Linked DNA regions of Homo sapiens: region 1 is linked to region 2. The links are contacts of gene promoters, found by promoter capture Hi-C in blood cells and fetal thymus (Javierre and others, 2016). All regions are on one chromosome and are shown on one strand. Each heading gives the region's core, a stretch centred on a gene start or on the middle of the fragment in contact. The rest is flanking DNA. Distances are from core to core; before and after follow the strand shown.

What was found. Contacts are between HindIII fragments. The CHiCAGO score rates a contact against its expected background, and 5 or more counts as called.
Region 1: a contact is called between a fragment that was not itself captured here and the fragment with the promoter of CAPNS2 in region 2, in 2 of 17 cell types (monocytes and M2 macrophages). The highest score is 8.4, in monocytes.

What each region holds. Positions count from the first base shown.
Region 1 is chr16:55,840,812-55,845,120 of GRCh38, reverse strand. No RefSeq gene overlaps it. Among named protein-coding and RNA genes, the nearest start is that of CES1, 9.9 kb to the right of the region's middle. The HindIII fragment of the contact is 6,371 bases long and covers 1-4,309 here.
Region 2 is chr16:55,563,741-55,568,236 of GRCh38, reverse strand. It overlaps CAPNS2 (calpain small subunit 2), which reads right to left and starts at 1,553. Exons shown (of 1, transcript NM_032330.3): 1 at 550-1,553. The coding sequence starts at 1,480. The coding sequence ends at 734. All of the region lies in intron 11 of LPCAT2 (lysophosphatidylcholine acyltransferase 2), which reads right to left. The HindIII fragment of the contact is 9,105 bases long and covers 1-3,476 here.

The DNA.
Region 1 (4,309 bases), core at 1,225-3,724, 280 kb before region 2:
CCACATAATCCATATTATATCCATATAATTCACCAGGGTAATTAGTTTTTCTTCGTGATTGCTTCAAGATTACATAAGATGCATACAATAGGAGGGTTTCTGAGATGCCAGTAACTCATCTGGGTGAGAGATCTCCAACTCAGTGCCCGAATCAGACCCCCTGAAGTGTTTTGTTTGGCCCACACAACGTTAAACATGTTTTGGAATTTGTTGCCAGCAAATTTTAAATTAGGAAAATTTCACATTAAATGCCATATTTCCAGCTTCTTCAGGAAACAACAATAACAAGAAAACCCAGAAGATACTGTTACCGAGCTGCATTCCCACATGATAACCAGCACTTCTGGCGGTCCATACAACCTTTTATGCAAATTACAAGGTGCCCCTTCCTCAAAACCTTCTACAGACATCTTCCATGAAACTGCCATGGATAAATATCTGCATTTATGATGCAAATGACACCTTCTCTAAAGTGTTACCCTTCTGCAGTGCACTACCTGTGCAACTGTCCTCAGCAAAGATAGAGTAATCTGCAGGAACTGAGAGGTGGCTGCCCCCTTTGCAGAGGCCTAAGTTCTCAACGTGCCACAGTCCACACCATACCCCTTTGTGCTGTGCCTGGTCTATTTTACTCACTGATATTACCCAACCTCTGAAGGTGTTTAAGTTTGGACCCTTGACCTCTCATTTCATAGTGAACCTCAGAGAGGTGAAACGATTCACCCAAGATCACTCAGCAAGTATGCAGTGTGAGCAAGTTAGCAGTAAGTCAAAACCAGGCCTTAAGGCTCTTGTCACTTCAGAGCAGGACTCTTACTGCCATGCAGCTACCTCTCTCATCAGATGGTCCAAAGCATTCGGTTGTCTCTGGATTAGGTGGTTGTGGGAGGGGTGGATCAGAGATGCTCTGGGCCACTTTATGGCTCTAGGCCGTGAAAGCAAGCTGGAAACTGAATTGCCTCTGCAGCTGCAGAAGACTAATTTCTATATTGATATTTGGAAAAACTAACAGCTAGAAAACACCACTCAACTCATTTTTAAAAATACGATCATATTAAATGACATTACACGCATCATTTATATATTGCTCGCAGTGCCAGCATCCTCAAATGTGTTTCTAATTTTGGTAGATATCTTGCTAGGGGGAGCACATTTCTAAGTTATCCAGATATAGGGCCCTCTTTCCTTCTCTTTCTGTCCACATGCAATCAGATGCTTTGTGGAGTTAAAGTTGACATTTATTTAAATGCCACTTTGTGTCTGTTTTTTTCCCCTTTAATTTAGAGTTTTCTATCTGGAATGTAAGTAAAATAATCACTTGGAGGGTTTTTCTAAAATACCAATGGCCAGGCCACTAGCCAGTCAATCGGAAGCAAAATCTCCTTGGATGGGACCTAGAAGTATTTTCAGTTTTCTGGCATTTTAATGAACACCCCGATTAAGAACCACTGGGTCTTAAGAGTGTGGCATATGTATTTTTCAAGTTCCTAGAGGCTCTCCAAAACAACAAAAAAATCTGCTTTATTTTCTGCCTGGTGTTGACGTGTCACAGTTTCTTTAGCCACTAGTCTTATCCTGGATATTTATGGTCATAATTTGATGAGCAACATTGGGAATGACTTCTTTTTTTTTGTTTTGTTTTGAGACAGAGTCTCACTCTTTCACCCAGGCTGGAGTGTAGTGGCGCGATCTCTGCCCACTGCAACCTCCACCCCAGTATTTTTACTTTTAAATATTATTTATGGCATCTAGATTTGCATAAGATGGACTGGGTCAACGGCCATGCCCTTTATAAGTCAATATTTTTGAGTTCTACAAATTCACTTTCCTAAAGCGCCAAATCACATCCTACTCACCAGCAAGACAGGTACACATCATTTTCACAATCACTTCTAATTTTCCACCATTGTAAAAAAAATAAAATATTTAACCACTTTCTTATTGTAAAATAAACAATTTACTTTTCCAGGACCCACTGCCTCCCCCTCCCCACTCTCCCCTTTTTTTTAAACAATCTTGAACCCTATCCATTAAATTAAATCAAAGCAAAACTTTAGGGACAAACTACGTCGGTCTTCACCTGTGAATTTCCTGATGTCCAGTAGAGGGCAGCATTATCACAAAGGAAAAACGCTTCCCTCTATTCTGAGGCTCCTGAGATGCTGGTGGTGTGACATCGCAGAACTTGGACTGACAATAAGACCATGCCAAATAGTTAAATTATATACAAGCCAATACAATATAGTGTTATCCATTCCATCTGTAACATTTGGAAAGAGGAAAAGGCAGAATCCACTCCCTGAAAAGTCTGACTGAAAAGACTAAACTCACTAGCAGAACAGAGGTTGGAGCCAGCAGTTTTTCCCTTTTCCACCTCCTGGACTTTCCCATTAAGTCTCCAGGAGCCTACCTCAGAGGGACATAAGGGATTTCCTCTCCTTGGACCAACTCAGTCCAGATTCCCCCAGGGCAGAGCTGCAGGGGAGGGTGGGAAGCGGGCTCAGGCCCTGCACCTGGGTAGCTGCCCCACCTGGTGCTGCCCCAGGTAGCGCATCTACAAGATGAGCCTCCCTTCCCCCAGCAGGGACAGATCCCACTCAGTCCTGCCCCGTATGCTCTGCTAAAAGTTCGTATTGAGAGTGTGCCTCATTATTCCCAAGGACGGGAAGGGCTGGGGAGAAAAAAACCTACCTTGCCGCTTGATTGTCTCAAAATACAAGGAAATTCATTGCAAAGAGCTCGCTGTGCTCCATGAATGGGGTGGAGCTCAAGTCTGAAATTAAAGGATGGGTAGGAAGGGGGATGGCCAGCCACAGCATGGCGGAAGTGTGACCCTGAGCAGTGGTGGCAAGGGGGCCAGCCCACGGGCAGCAGGGCTGGTGTTGGCAAGGTTGCTGGAGCACACTGTGGGTGCCTGGAGGACAGCTTTTCTACCTTGACCTTTAGGAAACAGACTTCTCTCTTTATCGGAAGATAATGCCATAAAATATCTATCTATCTATCTGTCTGTCTGTCTGTCTGTCTGTCTGTCTGTCTGTCTATCTACCTATCTACCTACCTACCTATTATCTATCATCTATCAATTATCTATGATCTATCTATTATCTATCTAATCTATTTATTTCATTTATTACATTTATTTATGTAATTGTGTTTCAAGCTCTATTCACCTCCTGAACTTTTCATATGAGAGAACAGAACTCTGGCTGATACCTTCGGTATTTTTAGAAGGATTGGTACACTTTGATTGTTATTTATCACTATATAAGTCCTCCATTAGTTTCACTGCATGCAACAATTGAGTTATAGAAGCACATTTCTGAAAATAAGTTATTCAATGGGAAAAATGGACTGTTGATGGCCAATTAGTAATATGAAGGCAAGGACAAACTTGTCCACCATCATGAGAGCTTGTTTGGTGGCCAGGCATTGACTTCATCAAGAGTCATCATTACTGCAGCCATTACATGAGCTTTGGGAAACTTCTTCCTTTTGACACTCAGATCTCTGGACAGAAATCATCTTATGTTGACATCTGGCAAGGCCCTTCCGATATTCTGTTGTAATTAGGTGGTTGGAGTTCCTGGGGTCAGCCCAGTTCTAGGAGTGGCAGAGGCAAAGAGCCTCCAGGAAACTTTGGCCTTGGGGTGGAGCTCAAAGGGGAGAGGTGCACTCCCCATGGGCATAAATGGGGGTTACCTACACCCCAACTTCTACAGGCATCCAATACCCCTAAACCCAGAGAGTCTTTTCTGTCTCTATTCTGATTGCATAGGTGCATGGTGGTGTCTTTCTTTCCAGGAGTTAACGTCTCCTTTTTCTGTTCTAAAACTAGTTATCGTCATTCTGTTGGCCTCTCAGTGTCCAAAATGCTGTCATTTCTTCTTTCACAGTTTGTCAGTGTGGGTTTGTAGCTTTAAAAACTTTATTTCACTGTTTTTTTTTAGGATAATTGGAGGGGGGAAATAAAAAATTTTGGATCCCTCTTCTTTCACAGGAAGTGGTAAACCGTTTTTCCTTTACACAAACATTTAAAAACAATTTTTTCTACCTTTCTGACAGCTACATTGCATCCCATAGTATAATACTCAATAAATTATTTAACTGTCTACTATTGTTAGCCATTCGAATGATTTCCTATTTTGTACCATTGTCAACTTCACTGAGGTGACCACCTGATACATATATCTTTGGGCTCATTCAGAATTATTCCTAGAGAATAGTGCTTTAAAATAAAGGTTTTATCATTATTTAGGTATGGCAGGCCCACCAATCAGATGTCAGCCATTGAAAAAGCAATTTGGGCTGG
Region 2 (4,496 bases), core at 304-2,803:
TTTGAACTATGAGCATATTGTTTTATTCCTCAATGTCTTTGACTCTCTTTACAAATGTATCAAAACAAAATTGCTAGTGCTTTTTTTTACTAAAGAAACAGAATTAAAGAACTTTAGAATTTTAGATAGTAGCTCCATCATTTAAAAAAATGCTACCCTTATATAAAACTGCTTAATTTCATTGTCTGAACCTGTTTCTTTATGGTTAAATAAGTTTCCTAAAAAGCACTTTTCATTTTTTTACATAATGGGAAAACCAGGTATAAAATTACAAGAAAAACAGATTTTGAACCTCTCTCCTCAACTTTTTAAAATGGAAAATGTATCTCCTGAGGGCTTTCTTGATTTATTCTAGGATTAAAAAAATTCATTCTTAACAACAATAACAACAATAATAAAGTTCCTACTCCTTGGAATTTATTCACTAAATAAGCAACACCTTTTAAAATCTACTCCATTAGAACTCTACCCCACAACCTCCCCACCATATATATGCAAGTCCATATAAATCCAAATCTCAAAAAGCTGATATACAAACCACTCAGAACATTTTTCGTGAAATATCTGTTTTAATTCAGCAGTAAAAGGCAGCACATGATCAGAAATATGTAGGGTTGTGAAAGAGCTTGCCAGGAAATGAGAGCTGTTGCACAGGGTATCAGCAACTGTGTACAGCTTGGCAAGGTTTTCAGTCCTGTCCTCCAGGGAGGATCTTGACTTCTCAGTTCCCACTTCAGGAATACATGGTCAACTGCAGCCATTCTTTGATAGACACTTGAATCAGGCCATCTCTATCTCTATCCAGAGACTTGAAGGCACGAAACATGGCATCCAGGCGGACCAAGCAGCTGATGAAATTGTTAAAATCCATATCTCCATCTTCATTAGCATACCGGCGGACAATCATTTGGTAAAGTTGTTCATTTAGCTGGAAGCCTGCGGCCTGCAGAGCTCCCCGCAGCTGAGAACTTCCCAGAGACCCAGAATGGTCCCTGTCATACTGCTTATAAACACACTGCCATTTCTTGATGTTGTTCCACAGATACTTAAATTCTTCAAAGCCCAGCTTACCAGTCGTGTCACTGTCCATGACAGACACAATGCTCCGGCAGGTGTCAAGACTAAAACCGTCAGTCTTAAGATCTTTGTGCTTAGAAAGGACTTTGTTGAGAATATTCATCAGATCAGTGGCACCCACCTCCATGTCTGGTCCAGCCAGCTGTGTAAATTGTTGCCGAAATCGCCTAACTTCCTCACTTTCTGAGGCCTCCACACTGGTGAAATGCTGCTGAGTGGGAGGCGGTTCTGGAGTATACTGAGCTGCTGCAGCCTCACTGATAAAATTCACAATTCCTCCAACTATCCCTCCAATATTTCTTCCTCCTCCTTCTCTTCTCTGACCACCTCCTCCAAAGAGGCCTCCAAGAGCTTCTCCAAGACCTCGATCTGCTCCTTCCAATAGAGCCTTTGCAAGAAACATGCTTTCAGTTTAACAAGCAAATGCGGCAGCAATCTTAGAGATGGTATGAAAAAAGATGAAATGGAGTTCAAGTAGTTTACATGTGGAAGAACTGGCTTTTCTTTACCTGCTTACACTGCACCACGCCCCATGATGTGATGTTTCACATCCTACTGAAGATACCTGAGTTCCATGAGGTCCTAGCACCTGCCATATTTTACAAGGCCTCAATAAAATTGTTTTCACTCTTCCAGATACTTATAAATTATAGTATGTAGGACACCTTAGGATAATAGTTTTAAAGAAAAAATATTAAAGTATGCATTTTTATGTCATTGATTTCTTAGTCCTCTGTCTCAGCACCTAAAAAATGATGTGCATTTTCCTAACAGGAAAAAGGTAAATGATGCAAGGAAATCAAAAATTTATTCTCTAAGAAATATTTATTGTTAGAATAGAATTGAAGAAATCTTGGGCATTGGAAGAATATTTAATCCTCTTCCTTTAGCAAAGATTCTCAAAATCCAGTAGTCTTAAGAAAAATTTAGAAGGGAGATTTTTAAAATGCAAGGTCCTGAATTTCCACTCCCAGAGATTCTGATTCCATAGGGCTGCTGTGGTGTCTGTGATCGACATTGCTAAAATCTTTTTTGAAATGTAACATTCATGTAAAAAATGTATCATATAAATCACAAATGGATAGCTCAAAGAATTTCACAGACTGCACACATCTCAGAGGCCTCTTCATACTTCTTTCTAGTTACTTCCGTCTTCCAAGGATAACCACTGTCCTGACATCTAACACCATAGATTTATTTTTGCACCTTAAATAAATTAAATCAGACAGTACAGACTCTTTCATTTATTCCTTTTTCATTATAAAAATGTTAAATGTTTTAAAATTGTGATAAAATACACATGCCATAAAATATACTATTTTAACCATTTTTAAGTATAGAGTTCAGTGGCATTAAGTATATTTGCATTGTGAAACCATCACCACCAGCTATCTTCAGAACTTTTTTCATCTGGCAAAACTGAAACTGTACCCATTAAAGAATAACTCCCATTCTCCCCTTCCCCCACCCCTGGTAACCATCTCTCTATTTTCTAGCTCTATGATTTGACTACTCTGCATGCCTTATATAAGTGGAATCATACAGTATTTGTTCTTTTGTGACTTGCTTATTTCAATGAGCATAATTTCTTCAAGATTCATCCATGTTGTATCATGTGTCAGAATTCCCTTCCTTTCTAATGATGAATAATATTGTATTGCATTAATATACTCATTTTGTTTTTCCATTATCCCATTGGTGAATACTTGGGTTGCCCTTTTGGCTATTGGGAATAATGCTGCTATGAACATGGGTATACAAATATTTGTTTGAGTCTTTGCTTTCAATTCTTTTGGGTATATACCAAGAAGTGGAATTGCTGAATCATATGATAATTCTATTTTTATCTTTTTAAGGAACTACCATACGCTTTTCCTTATTGACTGTACCACTTACATCCCCACCAGCAATACACAAGAGTTCCAATTACTCCATATGCTTGCAAACACTTGTTATTTTCTCTTTTGTTTTGTTTTCTAATAATAGCCATCCTAATGGCTGTAAAGTGGTATAACATTGTAGTTTTGATTTGCATTACCCTAATGATTAATGATGTTGAGCATCTTTTAATGTATTAATACTTACTGACCAAAGAAGATCTTTGGAAAAATGTCTATTTAAATCTTTTGGCCATTTTAAAATCTGGTTATTTGTTGGGTTTCTTGTTGTTGAGTTGCAGGAGTTCTTTAAATATTCTAGATATTAATCCCTTATCAGATATATAATTTGTAAATATTTTCTTTCATTCTGTAGGTTACCTTTCCACTCTGTTGTTAGTGTCCTTTGATGCACAAAAGTTTAAAATTTGTATGTGGTCATATTTATCTATTTTTCTTTGGCTGCCTGTGCTTTTGGCGTAATATTCAAGAAATCATTGAGAAATCCAGTGTCATGAAGCTTTTCCTCTGTTTTCACTGAAGAGTTTTATAGTTTCAGCTCTTATGTTTAGATCTTTGATCCATTTTGAGTTAACTTTTGTATATGTGTAAGTTAAGGGTCCAACTTCATTCTTTTGCATGTGGATATATAATTTTCCCAGCACTATTTGTTGAAAAGACCGTCCTTTCCCCATTGAATGGTTTTGGCATTCTTGCTGAAAATCATATGACCATATACACAAGGGTTTCTTCTGGGATCTCTATTCTATTCCATTGGCTTATATGTCTTTCTTGAAACCAGTGCTGCACTGTTTTGATTACTGTAGGTTTGAAGTAAGGTTTGAAATGAGGAAATGTCAGGCTTTCAACTTTGCTATTCTTTTTCAAGATTGTTTTGGCTATTCAGTGTCCCTTGAAATTCCCTATGAATTTTAGGATTGATTGTTCTATTTTTGTAAAGAAACATTGGGACTTTGAAAAGGATTGCTTTAAATCTGTAGATCACTGTGGGAAGTACTGACTCTTAATATTGTCTTCTAATCCATAAACATGGAATATCTTTCCATTTATTTGTCTCTTCTTCAATTTCTTTCAGCAGTGCTTTGTAGTTTTCAGTGTACAAGTCTTTAGCTTCCTTCTTGAAGTCTATTCCTAAGTATTTTAATTTTTTCTATGCCATTGTAATGGAATTGTTTTCTTAGTTTCCTTTTCAGAATTGTTCATTGTTGGTGTATAAAATGCAACTGATTTTTGTGTGTTGATTCATATCCTGTAACATTGCTAAGTCCCTTAATTAGTTCTGTGTTTTGTATGTGTGAGGGGTAATCTTTAGGGTTTTCTACAAATAAGATCATATCATTTGTTAACAGAGATAATTTTACTTCTTCCTTTCTATTTCATATGCCTCTTATTTCTTTTTCTTGCCTAACTGTTCTCGCGATGATTTCCAATACCATGTTAGTAGAAGCATGAGAGTGGGCATCCTAGTCTTATTCCTGATCTTAGAGGAAAAGCTTTCAGTCTTTTCATCACTGAACACAA